2 separate regions of the Homo sapiens genome follow, and region 1 is linked to region 2. The links are contacts of gene promoters, found by promoter capture Hi-C in blood cells and fetal thymus (Javierre and others, 2016). All regions are on one chromosome and are shown on one strand. The core of a region is centred on a gene start or on the middle of the fragment in contact, and the rest is flanking DNA. Distances in the headings are between cores, read along the strand shown.

What was found. The method cuts DNA at HindIII sites, captures the fragments that hold promoters and counts their contacts. A CHiCAGO score of 5 or more calls a contact.
Region 1: a contact is called between the fragment with the promoter of DNAJC30 here and a fragment that was not itself captured in region 2, in 17 of 17 cell types (erythroblasts, naive CD8 T cells, endothelial precursors and 14 more). The highest score is 14.8, in erythroblasts.

Annotation. Positions count from the first base shown.
Region 1 is chr7:73,681,702-73,684,762 of GRCh38, forward strand. DNAJC30 (DnaJ heat shock protein family (Hsp40) member C30) reads right to left here and starts at 1,752. Exons shown (of 1, transcript NM_032317.3): 1 at 1-1,752. The coding sequence starts at 1,722. The coding sequence ends at 1,042. BUD23 (BUD23 rRNA methyltransferase and ribosome maturation factor) reads left to right here and starts at 1,896. Exons shown (of 12, transcript NM_017528.5): 1 at 1,896-1,972; 2 at 2,066-2,103. The coding sequence starts at 1,925. RefSeq lists enhancers at 1,174-1,263, 1,504-1,673, 2,604-3,061. The HindIII fragment of the contact is 21,940 bases long and covers 1-3,061 here.
Region 2 is chr7:73,597,775-73,600,999 of GRCh38, forward strand. It overlaps MLXIPL (MLX interacting protein like), which reads right to left. Exons shown (of 17, transcript NM_032951.3): 8 at 1,752-1,921. Among named protein-coding and RNA genes, the nearest start is that of TBL2, 21 kb to the left of the region's middle. The HindIII fragment of the contact is 1,034 bases long and covers 1,392-2,425 here.

The DNA.
Region 1 (3,061 bases), core at 502-3,001, 84 kb after region 2:
CCCAGCACTTTGGGAGGCTGGACGGGCAGACAGCCTGAGGTCGGCAGTTCGAGACCTCAGTCTGGCCAGCATGGTGAAACCCCGTATCTACTAAAAATACAAAACACTAGCCAGGTGTGGTGGGAGCCTGTAATCCCAGTTACACAGGAGGCTGAGGCAGGAGAATCGCTTGAACCCGGGAGGTGGAGGTTGCAGTGAGCTAAGATCGCACCACTGCACTCCAGCCTGGGCAACAGAGCGCAAGACTCCATCTCAAAAACAAAACAAAACAAAAAACCCCCCAAAAACTATGGATAATAAAGCATGACAGACCTCAAGATGCCAAATGATTTTCTCCTCTGCTGTCATGCCTACAGAGTAACTTCTCCAAGGTCACACATTAAATATGGGCACAGGAACACTCATTCCTTATGCTCAATGACTTTTTCTCACTCCTACATGCTATCAACATAAGGAGGAGTGCCCCAGGGGGCTGACCTTAGCGGGAGGAACGACAGGCTCTCCACCGATCCCATTCTTACCCTGGACCAGGTCTCACCTGCGGCTTGGGGAAGTCACAGAAAGACAAGTTTCGTACAACCCCAGACCTTTTCTTTTGGTAGTCAACAATTGGTCACATTGCACATTTCAAGGTTACAGAGGCCCACCATACACATGCGGGGCAGGAGGAGATAAATCTTGCTTGGGGCTAAACAATAAAGCTACAGCGAGTGTTCCAGAAGTTGACCACATCTGGAAGCAAGAAGACAGACTCTGGAAGAAGCACCCTAGAGACTCCAGGAACCCCCTTCACTCCTGGGCTTTCGGGACTCTACAGCGTGGGGCCTCTTTCTCAGACATCGAAAGGCCTCCTTTTCTGGACCACAGTGGAGCGATGTGCAGGTCATCGGCTAAGCTGGGCGGGTCGGGGAGGGCAGGGGGAGTACAGTTCCTTCGGATCCCAGCAAAGGTAGACTATCAATGGCCAAGGGTTCAGAGGCAGGAAAAAAGGCCGTTTCTGGGGGGTTGGCTGGGGACACTCCCCTTCCCTTCTCTCTCCGATTAAATATAAAAGCCGATGATGATGAAGATTGAAAAGATGAGGAAAATGGCAGCCGTGTCTCGGGTATCCTCCCAGCGGAGGCCTTTCATGGACCGATACTCCTGCCGTTTGCGAAGGGCCTCCCGCCGGGCCCTCAGGCGCCGTTCCCGCTCCAGTTGTTCCCCGTAGTGGGCCTGGTAGAAGGCGTCAAAGTTGAACATCGTGCGGTTGGCGCCGGGGGAGGCCCGAGAACCGTCGTGGGTCCGAGAGGTGGGCGGCGGGGTACGCGGCGAGCCGGGGTCGGGTGCGGGCGTCCTGGAGGGCCGGACGCCAGGTCCGCGCAGGTCCTCGTCGCTGAGTAGGCCGCGATCATACTTGCGACGGAGGGTGGCACTGCCCAGCACCACGTAGGCCTGGGAGATGCGCGTGAAGCGCTCGGCGGCCTCCGCGCTCCCGGAGTTGCGGTCCGGGTGGTAGAGAAAGCACTGACGGTAGTAAGCCGCCTTGATTTGGGCCTGCGTGGCTGTGGAGGGGACGCCGAGCAGATCATACAGCGCCGTGCGCGAATACGAGCAGTCGCCCTGGGAATAAGTCCTCGCTCCTAGGCCCAGGCTGGGTGCAGAATTTTGTGGAAAGCCACGGGCCTGCAGCAACCTCCAAGGTAACAGCCGCTGCCACCATCGCCAGCGCATGGCTGCCATGTTGAATTGATTCGGCAGGCGGTGCAAGAGAAACCGGCCAATGAGAGGAGTCGGTTGGTCGCCCTGTGGCCAGTCACGTAAAGGGGGGGGCGGGGCGGTCGTGGGGGTGGAACATGCGTATTACTAAGCGGTCGCCGGGCTGATGACATAAAAACCGGGTGCCGGCAGGCGCCAGTCGCAGGTGTGCTGCTGAGGCGTGAGAATGGCGTCCCGCGGCCGGCGTCCGGAGCATGGCGGACCCCCAGAGCTGGTAAGTCCCGGGGCCCGCGGACACCCCTCTCCCCACTTCTGCGGCCACCGCGTCTGAATTATTCCTCTACATGCCATTTTCTCTTTTTCGCAGTTTTATGACGAGACAGAAGCCCGGAAATACGTTCGCAAGTGAGGGGAGCCTGAATACTGCGGGGCGTCCGGGGGTCGGGAAGCGGCAAGTTGCCCCTGTTGCTGGCGTTGCCCGGAAAGGCCGTAGAATTTGGGGGTGCGGGAAGGGAAGGACCCGGGTGGGTGCCGATTTCTGTCTCTGGTAAATCAACTTTAAGTTGCCGACCTCTCTGGGCCTCGGTACCTCAGCGTTGAGGTAGGGGTGATCGCGCTTGCTTTCCGTGGGTGGTTTTCAAAGTCGAATGTGACAATTTGTCCTAAACATGTGGTAAAAGAGGCGCTGGGCGGTGGGTACGGGCGAGGGGTCAGTCCTGGTGGGGGGAAGGAAGTAATGGCCGTAGGATGCTTATCGTGGCGCCTTGTTGCCAATAAATCTCCAAGACAGCAGTTGGTGTATTATTGTCTGAATTTCATAGAGGGTAGTTTGTATAACTACTGAGTTGTAGCCAGGTGGGAGTGGCTCACGCGTGTAATCTCAGCAATCGCAGCACTTTGGGAGGCTGAGGCGGGAGGATCGCTTGAGCTCAGGGGTTCGAGACCAGCCTGGGCAACGTAGCGAGCCCCCGTCTCCGCAAGTAATAAAAAAATTAGCCGGGTGTGGTGGCTCCCCTCTGCCTCTCCAGTAGTTGGGACCACAGGCGCGCGCCACTACGCCTGGCTTTTTTTTGTAAATTTTTGTTGCGATGGGGTCTCGCTGTGTTGCCCAAGGTGGCCCAAGCCCAGGGCTCAAGCGATCCTCCCGCCTTCGTCTCCCGAACTGTTGGGATTGCAGGCGTGAGCCAGCGCACCTCGAGTCGTTAAAAAAAAAAAAAAGGGGGGGGGATGGGGGCGGGGGGAAGCTGGCGCGGTGTCTCACGCCTGTAATCGCAACACTTTGGGAGGCTGAGGCAGACGGATCACCTGAGGTCAGGAGTTCGAGACCAGCCTGGCCAACATGGCGAAACTCCAGCTCTACTAA
Region 2 (3,225 bases), core at 659-3,158:
CTGGGCCTCCCCTGCCCTGCCTTGCCCTGGCCAAACTCTAGACTGGGGCCCTGGGGAGAGATAGGAGAAATGAGCCCTGCCTTCCAACACACACAGGTGTGCGAACATATACATGCAGCAGGGAAATTACAATGAGAGGAGGGAGTCGAGTACATTTATGCAAAAAGCAGGAACAGCGGAGCATCAATCTTCCTGCCCGTCCATTTGTCTCCCAAATAACTTATTCATCCATCCATCCACTAACTTGTCCACCAATCCATCCACCAACCAACTCACCCATCCATTCATCATCCATCCATCCACTAACTTGTCCACTGATCCATCCACCAACCAACCTACCATTCCTTCATCATCCATCCACTAACTTCACCAATCCATCCACTAACCAACCCACCCATCCATTCATCAATTGTCCATCTACTACTTCATCCACCAATCTCTCCATCCATCCGTCTTCCATCCATTCACCTACCTATTTATCAATCTATGAACCAGCTCATCTACCACTCTCTCCACCAGCCTACCAGATATTAACATATTAACTAATCCATCCAACCATCTATACTTCCATCATTCATCCACCAACCCATCCATAATCCTTCCATCCATCCACCATCTATACATTTCCAGCCACTTAACCACCAATGAACCCATTCACTAATCCATTAAACTATTCATCTATGTATCCATCCACCAGCCCACCCATCCACCCAACCACTCACCTACCCATATATCCACCAACCCACGTGTGCCTCCACCGCAGTCTAAGATGCATCTATCCATTCACCAGCACGCCCATTCATCTGCACACTTGCTCATTCATTCAGTCACTGACTCACTCATTGGACAACCATTCACTGAGTGCTGTTATGTGCCTGAGCTGTATTAGGTATAGAGAATGCAGTGGTGAGCAAAACATAACCCTTTCAGTAAGGAGCTCACTGTCTGATGGAGGAGAGACACCCCTCAGCAACCGATTAGAATTAGCACCTGAAAAGTCTGATGATGGAGGGAAAAGGCCTATAACCAAGCAGCAGGAAGCAACTTCTGAACTGCACCTGGGGGCCAGGTGTGGTGGCTCACACCTGTAATCCCACCACCTTGGGAGGCCGAGGCGGGCGGACTACTGAGGTCAGGAGTTTGAGACCAGCCTGGGCAACATGGTGAAACCCTGTCTCTACTAAAAATACAAAAATAAGCCGGAAATCGCTTGAACACGGGAGGCGGAGGTTACAGTGAGCCGAGATCATGCCACTGCACTCGAGCCTAGGCGACAGAGTGAGACTCTGTCTCAAAGAAAAAAAAAAAAAAGAATTGCATATGGGGAATTGATGAACCAAAATGGTAGATTCACTGTTTCCTAAACATCCACGCTCAGCTTTCTGCCTCGAAGCTTTTGTTCCTGCTGTTCTCCCATCTGGCTTGAGGTCAGCCAGTCCCTTCTGTCCAAAGCTGACCTATTCTCTAAGGCCCAGAAACTCCCCTTCTCCAGGAAGCCTTCCACAAGCAACTGGCCCTTGGTGGAGCCCATTCCATGGTCTCCATGCCCTTAGCTTTCTCCCACAACCGTTTTGTCCAGTTCTGCTTCACGGGGTCCCTCCCAGAGGGCAGAGATGGGGTCTTTCTTTCCCTCCAATCTCCAAGCAGAAGACTGGGCACTCAGGGAGTGTCTGATACCTCCTGGACATGAACAGGGCAGGAACAGCTCTCAAGTGAGCTACACAGGGCTGGACGGGGTGGGGTGAGCTCACCTGCAGACGGCTGTGTCCAGAGAGGTGGGTCATGGCCGAGGAAGCCGGGGGCACCTCTGGGCCCAGGGTCCCACTGCTGAAGAGGGAGTCAACCACGGGGCTGAAGCTGGGGGGCTCTGGGAAGTTTGAAGGCATGGGCGGCTGTGGGAGGCGGGAGTTGGTAAAGAAATCTGTAATTCAGACACACAGGGCAACAGCAGTTAGGGCCAGGGCTATGGCTGGGAAACAGCTGAGAGGAGAGTGGCCTGTCCCCAGCCTTGGCGGGTGGGGACATGGGGACTGGCGGGCAGAGGGTGGGGGTCCCTTCCACAGAAGATTGTGAAACTGGGAGGGTTTCTGTCTCGATTAGGGGAAGCAGCAACCGTCTTGGGTGGAATGAGCTTGCGTGGGAGAGAGCAGGGGACTGTGGATGTGAACAGGGACCCCAGGAAGGAGCCCCCTCCCCTCCCCAGCCCCAGGCTTAGCTCAGGAAGTCCCCCTCCCCACCCCCTGGTGGCTCCCCTTCCCTGATCTGCTGGAGGTGCAGAAAGGGGGTGCCCAGAGCGAGTGCCAGGGTGGAAAAGGGGTACGGTGCTAGGGGAGGAGGCCTGGCATGGGAGGGGCCCCAGGGTGGCAGAAGTTCAAGAGGGTGAGTTGGAGATGAGGGGGAACGTGAGGTCACTGGGTCCGGGACAAGCTTGGTTTGTTGGAAGGTCAACAGGTGGAGCCTAGGAGTGGGGTGAAGAGTGTAATGGGGCGAGAGGGGCCTAAGGCTGGGCTCCGAGTGGGGTGGGGGCGAGAGGGGCCTAAGGGTGGGCTCTGAGTGGTGTGTGGGCAAGAGGGAGATATGGGTGGGCTCTGAGTGGGATGGGGGTGAGGGGGGTGCCTAAGGCTGGGCTCCAAGTGGGGTGTGGGCAAGAGGGGCTAAGGGTGGGCTCTGAGTGGGGTGGGGGCGAGAGGGGCCTAAGGGTGGGTTCTGAGTGGGGTGTGGGCAAGAGGGGGATACGGGTGGGCTCCAAGTGGGGGGGGGGTGAAGGGGGACCTAAGACTGGGCTCCAAGTGGGGTGGGGGCAAGAGGGGCTAAGGGTGGGCTCCAAGTAGGGTGGGGATGAGAGGGGGCCTAAGGGTGGGCTCCGAGTGGGGTGGGGGCGAGAGGGGCCTAAGGCTGGGCTCCGAAAGGGGTGGGGGCGAGAGGGGCCCTAAGGGTGGGCTCTGAGTGGGGTGGGGGCGAGAGGGGCCTAAGGGTGGGCTCTGAGTGGGGTGGGGCAAGGGGTCTGGGAAGCCTGCGAGAGCTGGGGGAGGCAGTAGCGGATTGTTTGGGGTGCGGGTTGTGTAAGTCCTGGGCTATTCTGGTTTTGGGAAGCAGCTGGCCACGGCCTGACCACATCCCGGGCCTGGGCGCCGCCCGCCCACCCGCTCCCTTCCGGGCACCTTTCTCTGACCCTGACCAGCCTGTGATCCGTGCCAGCTCCTGAGGCCTCTTAGTCTGGGCAGT